3 separate regions of the Homo sapiens genome follow, and regions 1 and 2 are each linked to region 3. Evidence: promoter capture Hi-C in 16 types of primary human blood cells and fetal thymus (Javierre and others, 2016). All regions are on one chromosome and are shown on one strand. The core of a region is centred on a gene start or on the middle of the fragment in contact, and the rest is flanking DNA. Distances in the headings are between cores, read along the strand shown. Region 1 holds the start of COASY (Coenzyme A synthase). Region 2 overlaps ATP6V0A1 (ATPase H+ transporting V0 subunit a1). Region 3 holds the start of CNP (2'',3''-cyclic nucleotide 3'' phosphodiesterase).

What was found. Contacts are between HindIII fragments. The CHiCAGO score rates a contact against its expected background, and 5 or more counts as called.
Region 1: a contact is called between the fragment with the promoter of COASY here and the fragment with the promoter of CNP in region 3, in 2 of 17 cell types (total CD8 T cells and activated CD4 T cells). The highest score is 6.3, in total CD8 T cells.
Region 2: a contact is called between a fragment that was not itself captured here and the fragment with the promoter of CNP in region 3, in 2 of 17 cell types (fetal thymus and endothelial precursors). The highest score is 5.9, in fetal thymus.

The regions. Positions count from the first base shown.
Region 1 is chr17:42,559,777-42,563,727 of GRCh38, forward strand. It overlaps COASY (Coenzyme A synthase), which reads left to right and starts at 2,372. Exons shown (of 9, transcript NM_025233.7): 1 at 2,372-3,546. The coding sequence starts at 2,847. RefSeq lists enhancers at 2,448-2,697, 2,708-2,897. The HindIII fragment of the contact is 14,901 bases long and covers 1-3,951 here.
Region 2 is chr17:42,507,521-42,511,352 of GRCh38, forward strand. It overlaps ATP6V0A1 (ATPase H+ transporting V0 subunit a1), which reads left to right. Exons shown (of 22, transcript NM_001130021.3): 18 at 1-107; 19 at 1,052-1,069. Among named protein-coding and RNA genes, the nearest start is that of MIR5010, 4.8 kb to the right of the region's middle. The HindIII fragment of the contact is 5,404 bases long and covers 1-3,832 here.
Region 3 is chr17:41,964,051-41,968,352 of GRCh38, forward strand. It overlaps CNP (2'',3''-cyclic nucleotide 3'' phosphodiesterase), which reads left to right and starts at 2,745. Exons shown (of 4, transcript NM_033133.5): 1 at 2,745-2,837; 2 at 4,018-4,302. The coding sequence starts at 2,835. It overlaps ODAD4 (outer dynein arm docking complex subunit 4), which reads left to right. Exons shown (of 12, transcript NM_031421.5): 12 at 943-2,453. The coding sequence ends at 1,433. RefSeq lists enhancers at 2,018-2,117, 3,219-3,776, 3,777-4,302 and silencers at 2,488-2,927, 3,058-3,247. The HindIII fragment of the contact is 2,895 bases long and covers 944-3,838 here.

The DNA of each region.
Region 1 (3,951 bases), core at 1,122-3,621, 600 kb after region 3:
CAGGGCCTTTGTACTTGGCCCCCTCTGGGTCACATTCCCTGATCTCTGATTCTATGTCTTCCTTCAGATTTTTGCTGTTTTCCTGAACCACCTTATCTAAAATAGCCTCTCAGCTTCTCCACTATAGCTCCCTTACTCTGCTTTACTTTTGTTCTTATCCTTTATCACCAGTAGATATATTATGGATTTGGGTTTTTTAATTTAATTTTTATTTTTTTTGGAGACGGAGTCTCTCTGTCACCCAGGCTGGAGTGCAGTGGCGTGATCTCGGCTCATTGCAATCTCTGCCTCCCAGGTTCAAGCGATTCTCCTGCCTCAGCCTCCTGAGTAGCTGGAATCACAAGTACCGCCACCACACCCAGCTAATTTTTTGTATTTTTAGTAGAGACGGGGTTTCACTATGTTGGCCAGGCTAGTCTTGAACTCCTGACCTCAGGTGATCTGCCTGCCTCAGCTTCCCAAAGTGCTGGGATTACAGGCGTGAGCCACCGCGCCTGGCCATGTATTATAGATTTATTTATGGTGGCATGATTCCTGTCTGCAACCCCAAGACACACAGTACTCTATACCCCAGGATGGCAGGGACATTGTTTTGTTCACTGGTCCATCCCTGTGGGAGGCAGTAAAATACACATTTACTCAATAAAAATGACTCTGTATGTGGTGTGTCAGACTGTGTGTCCAGATGTCTTGGGACATTCTCTGGCAGCCTTTGCTGTTTGTGTCTTCAAATCAGACCCTATCTTTAAATCTAACATGTCTCCTGTGAGAAGCCTGGTCCCTTAATACCTTTGTGGCTCTACAACTCTTCCCTCCTTGACTGTATCTCTTCCTCCAGGTCTTTGCTGTTTTCCTGAATCACCTTATCTAAAATAGCATCTCCTTTTCTCCATCATAAGCCCAGGTTTTGTGGGGCTGGGGGCTTATTTGCTTTTGGAGACCGTCTTCAAGAATACAAAAGATAAACACAAAATTACATATAAAAGTGAGTTTTGTTTTTTTTTTTAAGTTTCGGATACCACGGCACATTACTGGAATCTTGGAGACTGGCTTCTCTCCCTTTTGATCTCCATGCACAACTTACCTGAGATGTATTCTAATAGCAACCTGGCTTCCCCTCCACACTCAGCCTTTCAAGCGCCCATTAGCTTCGCAGTAAATCTCCCACACTAGGTATCCAGCCTTTGCCTTTTTCTTTTTTCTTTTTTTTTTTCCAGAGGGAGTTTCGCTTTTTTTTTTTTTTTTTTTTTTTTGAGACGGAGTCTCACTCTGTCACCCAGGCTGGAGTGTAGTGGTGCGATCTCGGCTCACTGCAAGCTCTTCCTCCCGGGTTCACGCCATTCTCCTGCCTCAGCCTCCCGAGTAGCTGGGACTACAGGCGTCTGCCACCATGCCCGGCTAATTTTTTTTTGTATTTTTAGTAGAGACGGGGTTTCACCGTGTTAGCCAGGATGGTCTCGATCTCCTGACCTCGTGATCCGCCCGCCTCGGCCTCCCAAAGTGCTGGGATTACAGGCGTCAGCCACCGCGCCCGGCCGGGAGTTTCGCTCTTGTTGCCCAGGTTGGAGTGCAATGGCACAATCTTGGCTCACCGCGACCTCCGCCCACGGGTTCAGGCGATTCTCCTGCCTCAGCCTCCTGAGTAGCTGGGATTACAGCCATGCGCCACCACGCTCGTCTAATTTTGTATTTTTAGTAGAGACAAGGTTTCTCCATATTGGTCAGGTTGGTCTCGAACTCCCGACCTCAGATGCTCTGCCCACCTCGGCATCCCAAAGTGCTGGGATTACAGGCGTGAGCCACCGCGCCCAATCAGCCTTTGCCTTTTTCTCCTGTCCACAGAGACCCCGCAAACAAGCGCATCAGAGGATCTGGGTGGTGCGAGAGCCTCCTACAGCAGCCAGGTACACACAAGGCCTCAGTTTTTCCATCTGTGAAATGGGTACGTGGACAGACCTGTCCAGTAGCCTCCCATGTGAGAATCCTCGGACTGAGAGGGTACTAGGAGGGCTAATACAGCGCAGCCCTGTGATTCCCCACCTCTGTCCCTGGAATGAAGGAAATCTGGGTGTTAGTTCTGGCTTTGCCGATGCCTCTTGGGTGGCCTGGCTGAAACTAATCTCTCCTCATCAGGCCAGAAGGGAATCTGTGAAATGGGCTTTGAAACCTGCCTTGCCTTTCTCCGCCCGGTCCCAGCGGGGGTCCGATCGGCATCAAGGCTTCACCCACTCCCAGAGCCTTCGGGATCAGCCCCACCCCATCAGCAGGACACAGCCCATGCCACTGGAAATCTCGCGAGAATCCCGCGCTGAAGCGAAGTCGAGACGTTTGACCTTCCTCCGTTTCCGTAGTTCCGAGTTGCGGTTTCTCCGTTAGTGCTTCCGGGTTGCAGCCAGGGAAGCCTCCGCGGTGGTGCAAGTGGAACCCAAGCCTTGAGGTTTCAGTGAGTAGGGGGCCGACGTGAGCTTTAGCGTCCCCCTTTAGCCTCCCTCTTCGATTCCTTGAAGACCCTGGTGCAGCTTAGCAAGAGGGCCCAGGATTTTTGGATCCCCAGCCCTGTGACAAGGGTTCCTGTCCAGTTTCCCCCTCCCAGGATTTCGACTCAGTTCAGCGAAGTCACCGCCCCGTCTGAGAAATGAGGACACCAAGGCTTAGAGCACAGCCCCGAGGCGCCGTCTACCAGGCCCCGTCCCCTCCCCCGGCTCCTGTCGGTCAGCACTGAAACCCCGTCCCTGCTCCAGGCCTCCTTCTCTGGGGTCCAAGGTCCCATACAGGCCTCTGCCTCGGCCGCAGGCCCTTCAGTCACCGTCGCCTCGTCTCCCTGACTGTCCGCAGGCCTGGGCAGCATGGCCGTATTCCGGTCGGGTCTCCTGGTGCTGACGACGCCGCTGGCCTCCCTAGCCCCTCGCCTGGCCTCCATCCTGACCTCGGCGGCCCGGCTGGTGAATCACACACTCTATGTTCACCTGCAGCCGGGCATGAGCCTGGAGGGCCCGGCTCAGCCCCAGTCCAGCCCCGTGCAGGCCACGTTTGAGGTTCTTGATTTCATCACGCACCTCTATGCTGGCGCCGACGTCCACAGGCACTTGGACGTCAGAATCCTACTGACCAATATCCGAACCAAGAGCACCTTTCTCCCTCCCCTGCCCACCTCAGTCCAGAATCTCGCCCACCCGCCAGAAGTCGTGTTGACAGATTTCCAGACCCTGGATGGAAGCCAGTACAACCCGGTCAAACAGCAGCTAGTGCGTTACGCCACCAGCTGTTACAGCTGTTGTCCGCGACTGGCCTCGGTGCTGCTATACTCCGATTATGGGATAGGAGAAGTGCCCGTGGAGCCCCTGGATGTCCCCTTACCCTCCACGATCAGGCCAGCTTCCCCCGTGGCCGGGTCTCCAAAGCAGCCGGTGCGTGGCTACTACCGTGGCGCTGTCGGTGGCACGTTTGACCGCCTGCACAACGCCCACAAGGTGTTGCTCAGTGTCGCGTGCATCCTGGCCCAGGAGCAGCTTGTGGTGGGAGTAGCAGACAAAGATCTGTTGAAGAGTGAGTAAGAGGGACCCTGGACTAGGGTGGAGGATCCCCAAATCTCCCCACCCCCGACCCTTATGCCGAGATCAAGGAAGGGTAGGGCCATTCATTACTTCCCACCCTTCCCAAATGTCACAGTGGTTGACACTCAATTGGTGCTAAGGCCATTTTGTCAAATGAACAGCTTTCTCAGCATGTGGTCCAGTCACCACTCAATCAGAATACCCCAAATGTGAAGCAAAGGGATCTGCATTTTAGCAAGTTTTCCAGGTGATACACCCTAATGAGACACTGGGAATGAATGGGTGAGTGAGCTGCAGGTAGCAGTGCCACAGACAGGAGGAGGAAACTCAAGCATGGCATGGGTCTTGGAATTTTCCATCTGCCTCTGATGCCCTCTGGCACTGCTCGTTCTCTGGA
Region 2 (3,832 bases), core at 1,073-3,572, 540 kb after region 3:
GAACTCTCAACTTTGGTGGGATCAGGGTGGGCAACGGACCGACAGAGGAGGATGCTGAGATTATTCAGCATGACCAGCTCTCCACCCACTCAGAGGACGCAGACGAGGTAAGATCCCGTGGTGTGGGCTTTCTCTCCTTCCACCTCGGGTCAGCCCTAGTCTTGTGTACCTAAGAGGCCTCACTCCAGTCTTCTCCTTGAAAAATAAAAATACTAATTAATATTCAGCCTGCCTTCTGGACCTCTTAGGGCACCACAGCTTTTTCCAGTGGGCCCTGCCCTAAGCTCCAGCTGTTGCCCCCAGAGCCCGCAGCAGTTTTGCTCCTATCTTGAATTCCAGATTTTGCCCGCAGTGCTCTGCACGCAGGTCTCCATTACTGACTGCTCTCTCACCTGAGGCAGAGCAGGCCTCAGCATCCCAGCTCTTATGACCTGAAACACAGGTCACTAAGCACAGCTTCTTCATCCATTGACCCTTCCAAGGATCGTTCCAATTACATTACTGACCAGCTATAATCACTGGTACTTTTGAAGTCCTACACCACTGATGTGTTCTTGCTGCAGATATTTTGTTTGAGCTTTTTTGGTGTCATTTGCCTACTTTTTACAGGGAGAGAGAGAATTAGGCCAAACTAGACTTTTCCTTAAGATACCACCTCCAAGCCCACTCTCCTTGCCTGACCCCTTGTAGCACAAAGCCTCTGAACTGAACTATTAAATCTCATCTACTCATTATGTTCTTTTTAAAGCAAATAAAATAGGAGTTGAGGACTCAAGTTGGACTTTTCAGTCTGTCTGACCACTTTCACTATATATGATTTTTTAAAAAAGAAATCACAAGGGTTGTGGATGCCTTTAAAAAATATGTATCTTAATGCTCTAAATTCCTGCTGATTTCGCTTTGTGTATATGCTGAGGAGGCCTGCCTCCAACGTGCTAGCCCATTTAACATGAACAGTCCTCCCCAAGAAGCATTCAGTAGCCTTGTGCTCCTAACTTGTGACCTTGTGTGTGGCGTGGCTCCCCACTAAGTGTAAATTTGTGTTTTCAAGCCTTCCGAGGACGAAGTGGTAAGATGAAAGCTGGCGTTGCCTTCGTGTTTATCCGGGCTTCTCTCTTCCCATCCTTGTGATCACTCTGCTGACCCTGCCACACCCTGGGGCCATACACATGACTCCTGTGCCTCTGCATCTCACTGGCCATTTCAAACCAGTTCGTGAGCCTGTGTTCTAAAAAGCTCATCTCCATTAACTGCATCTCATGTCGGTCACCTCTGTCTTTGTTTCATTGACTTTGCTGATTTAACACCTCTGAGAATGGCTTTGAAAGGAGCTACAAGTAATGTCTTCACTGGCATTCTTGAAGTGACTCCTCTTGGGGGTTAAGTCCCATTGGCCTCTGCCTTCCTCTCCTGTGATGTTGTGGTTGATCTACTCCCAGCCACCGGGAGTAGCCGTTTCCTCCCTGCTCCTCCTAGTGCTTGTGAGCAAACCTTACCCTTCCTCCCTGTCTGAGCCAGCCTCTTCCTGCTGCCCTCCTCAGCTTGATGATGCTTCAACTTAGAAGTGGTGGACCCTTCTCGGGGTCAGCTCTACCTCCATGTGACCCAGGTGAGAGGGAGACAGCTTTCAAAAGGAGGCTTTGCCTTCCAGATGCATCCCAAAGGAAATAATCCATCTGTGTGAAAGGAGTTCATATTATATCAGCCACATAGAGAATAACGGAGACTGGAAAGCAAATTGGCTAACTGTTCAGGCCACATCTCGAGTAGAAGGCCCTCTGGCTCAGCAGTAATTCACTTAGCAACATACACTCTTTAAACTGGGTTTTTAAAACACCTTGCTGCACTGTTTGCATCTTCCCCCAGCACTTCTCTCTAAAATGCCTAGACCCACAAACCATACCCTTCCCTTCCTGACTCTCGGTCCTCTCTAGGAGGGCAGTGGGATGGGAATGGGAAAGCCTTTGCTGTTCTGTGTAAACACAGGTAGGGCCTGCTCTTCCTGAAGCCTAGAGAGGCTCCTTTGCTGGCATCAAAGAGTGTCTGTGTTCCTGGACTGCTCATCTATGCAGTCCCTGGCTGAGCTACCTGGCAGGGATGGGTGGGGCGTGCTCCATGTTAATGAGGAGCCCAACCCTTTCCCTGGCTCACTACCTCCAACAACACTGCCTTTTAAATGTTTTCCTAGCCGAGCACCCACATTGTCAGAATGGTCTGACCAACTATTGTGTACCAGCGTTCTCGTTTGTAGCCATGTCCCAGGAGGTTGGACATCCAACAAGATAGACTCTAATTCAGCCTCCCCAGTCTCTGGCCACCCAGCTCACTCAGGGATTCAGCTACCCTTGGCTACCCAAGTAGTCTAAACATTTTATCTTTATCAGGCACATATACAGTCTGGTTCTCTGTAGCCAAATTTAGATACCCATGACATTTATCTAATGATTTCAAACCAAACAGGTTCCTAAAAAAACATTCAGCCTACTTCTAGAACTTCCCCATTTTGCTTGGCTGTGAAAATGTATTTGTCCCATGCAGGCCCTTGCTCCAGCCCAGTGGAAGCATTAGTACCTCTTCCTAGCGGGAACTCAGTCCAGCTACACACCAGAGCCAGGCCAGTGGTTGTCTGGGAAATCTTCAAAGGCCGTGACCACTCAGCAAGGGTCAGTGGCACCTCTCCCCACTGTCTCCTCACCAGGTGCATTCATCCCATCCATCCATGCATTCACTCACCCTCCGTGTTGTCCAGCACTATGTATAGTGCTGCAGAAACAAGAAGAATATAGTGCTTGCCTTCAAAGACCTCCCAAAGTGGGGAGATAGTCTGGATGACAGGTGCTGTAATAGAAGTGTGCCCCGGATGCTATAGGAGCACAGAAAGAGGGCAACTGATGAACACTGGGGTGAGAGTGGAAGAGGAGACCCTGGAAGACTCCCTAAGGAAGTTGTCTTACTCTGGTCAAGCAGGAGGCCCTGTAGAGGGAGTGGTGCAGACCCACCAGCATATGCAGCTTCACAGGGGCAAAACACCTGTAGGTCCATCACGTGTTGGGGACTAGCAAGTATTCAGCTTGGCTGGAGCAGAGGCAGGAGTGGGGAACTGGGGACAGGTGAGACTAGAGGTTGGCAGAAACCAGCCATAGTAGTTTTTGCCTCATTTGGACAACAAGGAGCCATCCAAGAGAGAGCGGTGAAGCTGATGGTGACACAGCCATGGCGCATTGAAATACCCCCAGTGGCTGTGTTGTAGGGTATATTGGGTTGGGGAGGGACAAGGTCAGGAGGCATAGACTCGACATCATCTGATGTGATTCAGGACAGAATGGCGAGCCTGAAGTGAAGTGTCTGTAGGATAAGTTGGAAAGGAAGGAACCAATATGAGATATTAAAGAAGTGAAAGCTATAGGTCCCAGTGCCTTAATAAAGGTAAGGAGTAAGAGAAGATTCGAGATTGACTCCCAGACTCTCCAGTCTGCTGGACATGGGAGATGGAATAGAAGTTGATCTCGGTGTGGTCAGAGGAGAGCAGTTACTGTGTTGAGCATGGAGAGCCTGTCGTTCCCCAGGAGAAGGAGTACAGCTGGCTGGAAATAGGCAAGGCAGAGATGGAGAGATCCACCTTGGAGTCACTCCTAGGGGCGACCCTTGAAGCCCTGAGTAGCAATCCCACCAGAAAGATGCAAGGGCTGAAGCTGAAACTTCAGAGAGCATCGGCATTTAAGGAAGAACCTTGGCTGGGCGTGGTGGCTCACGCCTGTAATCCCAGCACTTTGGGAGGCTGAGGCGGGCGGATTGCTTGAGCCCAGGAGTTTGAGACCAGCTGGCCAACGTG
Region 3 (4,302 bases), core at 1,495-3,994:
CACTCCCGGTTAATTTTTTTTTTTTTTGAGATGGAGTTTTGCTCTTGTTGCCCAGGCTGGAGTACAATGGCACAATCTTGGCTCACTGCAACCTCCGCCTCCTGGGTTCAAGCGATTCTCCTGCCTCAGCCTCCCAAGTAGCTGGGATTACAGGCGCCTGCCACCATGCCCAGCTTATTTTTGTATTTTTAGTAGAGACGGGGTTTCACCTTGTTGGCCAGGCTGGTCTCAAACTCCTGACCTCAGGTGATCCACCTGCCTCGGCCTCCCAAAGTGCTGGGATTACAGGCGTGAGCCATGCCGCCCGGCCGTGTGATTTCTTTTCTATCGATCTCAGGTCCCTTGACTGCAAACTCAAATCAACGGCAGTGCGCATTTTCATGATGTCTGGATGGGATAAGCTATACAGCCCTCACGTGATGCACAGGACGGAGCTGGGCTCAGTCAATGATGGTTCCCTTTCTCTGCTTTTGGAAAGGTGTGCTGTCAACACCAATTTAAAGAGCTGGCAAAAACAGTCATTCTCAGGGCCTTTCTCTCATCGGCCTCTCAAAAGCACAGGCCTCCACAGAGATGAACAGTTTCTTTCTTTTTTTTCTTCTTTCTTTTTTGGAGACGGGTCTTGCTCTGTCACCCAGGCTGCAGTGCAGTGGCTGGATTTTGGCTCATCACAGCCCCAACCTCCTGGGCTCAAGCGATTCTTCTGCCTCAGCCTCCGGGTAGCTGGGACTACAGGCGCCAACCACCACGCCTGGCTAATTTTTGTATTTTTAGTACAGACAGGGTCTCACTGTGTCGCCCAGGCTGGTCTGGAACTCCTGGCCTCAAGGGATCTGCCTGCCTCAGCCTCCCAAAGTGCTGAGATTACAGGCGTGAGCCACCGCACCCGGCCTGACATGAACAAACTTTTATCTTTCTTCCCGCTTTTCTCTTATTTTTCAGAAGCTTCACTGTATGAAGATAGAATAATAACAAGAGAGAAGGACATGAGGAGAGTGAGAGATGAGCCCGAGAAGGTGGTGAAGCAGTGGGACCATAGTGAGGATGAGAAAGAGACAGATGAGGACGATGAGGCTTTTGGGGAAGCTCTGCAGAGCCCAGCAAGCGGAAAGCAGAGTGTGGAAGCAGGAAAAGCCAGAAGCGATTTGGGAGCAGTTGCCAAGGGCCTGTCAGGAGAATTAGGCACAAGATCAGGAGAAACAGGCAGGAAGCTACTAGAAGCTGGCAGAAGAGAGTCAAGAGAAATTTATAGGAGGCCTTCGGGAGAATTAGAGCAAAGACTCTCAGGAGAATTCAGCAGACAGGAACCAGAAGAACTAAAGAAACTTTCAGAAGTGGGCAGAAGAGAGCCAGAAGAACTGGGAAAAACACAATTTGGAGAAATAGGAGAAACGAAAAAAACAGGAAATGAGATGGAAAAGGAATATGAATGAAGCCATCGGTAGAGATGAGGATCAGGAAGCTGGTGTTCAGAGGGATCATGGGATTTTATTAAACTGGATTTTCAAGCGATTTGTCTGTTATAGGAAAAATGAGGGTTTTACTTCTGCTGCTTTCCATCACTATTTTGCCATTAAATAGGTGTCTTTCACTCTTGCAAACCCTGAGTCTGTCACTTTGCCTCTTCACCCCTGCCCATTCTTGGAAGAGCATCGTGGAAGAAATGAGAAAGGTGCCAAGAAGAAAGGGTTTCAGGAGGGTGAAGATACGGGCGCTACAGGGAACAAGAAGTCACAGGGAGGAGAGGGGAAGGCCTGGGAGGAGAGGTGCTTCCCACACACCGGTGACTGACTGAGTCCCTCCAGTGCGCAGGACAGCGGGGAGGCTTTATGGATGGAACAGTGGTGGGGCGGCCCCAGCTGTCACAGGTAGGAGAATGCCGCAAGCCAGAACCAAGCGAATGCTGGGAGTGAGGCCAAAGATAGGGGAGTGGCCTGGGAGTCGGGAGGGCAGACAGACTCCGCCTCTGACACCTCTGGGTGGCATAATCAGGTAAATCAGGCTCTCCAAGCTGGCTTCTCCTCTGAACAATGGGATACCTGCCTCAGGGGTTGCTGCGAGGACTGAGTGCTTAGCACAGCACTTGGACAGGAAACTCAAAAATCCAACGGAGCTCTCAGTGGTTTCACAGAGGAGGTGGCAGCTGAGGATCTGGCCTCAGAGGATGTTAGGATTTCACTCCGTTACTCATCTGTCCCTTTGGCCATTGCCATCCTGGTCTGTCTCCACAGCTCCTAGAAGGAAAGGTCGGGGCTGAGACTGACTTTCGGCTGGCACAGGGCCTGGACGAATGAGGCCAGTGAGGCATTTCAGATGCAGAGTTTACCGGAATGCCAGCAAATTGCATGATAATATTTTAATCCAATGTGGTAAAAAAAAAAGTTTTTAATTAATGCAAAAGTCCATGATGAATAAAATATCAAAAATTAAAGACAGGATCCGACTTTGCACGACCCTGCCTCACTCACTTCCTGCTAATCCACGGGACCGGGGAGGGTGACTGAGTTACCCCTCAACACGCAGAAAAAGCTAGTGGCCGCTCAGCTCGCAGGCGCAGTGGGTGGGTGCGCGTGGGGAGCAGGCGCGCGCAGGGGGCGGGACCGGGCCGAGGTTCCCGCGCGCGGCGAGAGTTTCGGGTTTTGGTTCGCAGCGCCTGCGCGCAGAGGAGACGGCCCGCCCCCAGCCCGCCCGGGTGCCCGCTCCGCCCCCCGGGCTATGTAAAGCGGCCGGGCTCGGGTCGTGCCACCGCTGGACTCCCGTGTCCCTCCGCGCAGGCGGGCGGCCCCGGAGCGCTGGTGCCGGCAGAGGCGGCGACGGTGGCGCCCCTCCTCATCATGGTGAGAGGCCGGGCGGGGCCGGGCACGGGGTAGCACCAGGGCGGGAAACGAGTGTCGGGGCCCCTCGGGAGGAAGCGTCTTGCAAACGAGGACCCGGGGCTCCGGGTTCGACTTCCAGTTTTCTTGGTACTCAGGGCGGCCCTGAGGTCTGGGAGAAGCGGAGGGGTTTTGGGGTGCCGGAGAGGCCGCTGTAAAGGGAAACGGTGGTGTTTCTCAGGAGGGAACTCGGGACCGCAGAAGCTGCTGCGCCTCTGGGAGCCTGGGTGGGCCTGGGCCGGGAGCCCGGGAGCTGCTCCCGACCCCACGCAGGCCCGCGCTGGGGCAGCCGCTTCGGCGCCCCCTCCCCGGGCCCAGTCTCATCACGCGGAACCGCTGCCCCGCGCCCGGGTGCGGGCGGGAGGTGGAGCCAGTTCAGAGGAGGGGACCCTTTACGGTAAAAGCTGCCGTCCCTTGTGGCTTCTAGAAGATAGGAAAACAAGTGGCTCCGAGAGGCGCTTCTGACACACAGCACAGCGGCGGGTAGAGCTGGATCCTAATTGCAGGTGCCCTGTGCTGCCCTGTTCTGGACAGGCACAAAGACCACGACTTTGTGGGGGCCGGGAGAGGGTAGAGGAGGAGGTGGCAGGCTTGGTGAAAGAGGGCCTTTGTCCAGTGCTCTCCTGCCCTGCCCCCCACCAGCCCTTCTGTGGGACCATTGTACCCGCATGCCAGACAAGAGAGTATTATCTGTTGCGGCCATTGTTGGGGGAAGGGAGGCAGTCTTGGGGTAACCCTTCTCCACTCCCCCCCTTCTCTGTGCACTCAGCCGTGGCAGCTGTGGCTTGGCCCAGACACAGAGACCCCCACCTCCAAAGAGGACGTCCTTAGTAGGTGCCAAGCATATAAGAGTGAGGCCAGTCCCAGAACCGCAGGCTCCTGGCGCGCCCCGCATGCCTCCAGCACGTTTACCTTTCCGAAGTGGCAGGAATGGGGAAAGCGCACGCTTAGGAGAGCTTCAGACAAGCTTCCCTCTTCCTCCTCCACGACCAGAAGCGGAAAGGTGCTCCCGGACCGAAAGGGAAAGAAGGTCCAGCACTGCCCCGCTTGGGAAGGCACCCACAACCAGTCTAGGGACTAGGGGTAAGGCCGGCGGGGAGCCCGCGAATGACCTGGGCTGACATCTCTTCCCCTCCTTACACAGAACAGAGGCTTCTCCCGAAAAAGCCACACATTCCTGCCCAAGATCTTCTTCCGCAAGATGTCATCCTCAGGGGCCAAGGACAAGCCTGAGCTGCAGTTTCCCTTCCTTCAGGATGAGGACACAGTGGCCACGCTGCTAGAGTGCAAGACGCTCTTCATCTTGCGCGGCCTGCCAGGAAGCGGCAAGTCCACGCTGGCACGGGTCATCGTGGACAAGTACCGTGATGGCACCAAGATGGTGTCGGCTGACGCTTACAAGATCACCCCCGGCGCTCGAGGAGCCTTC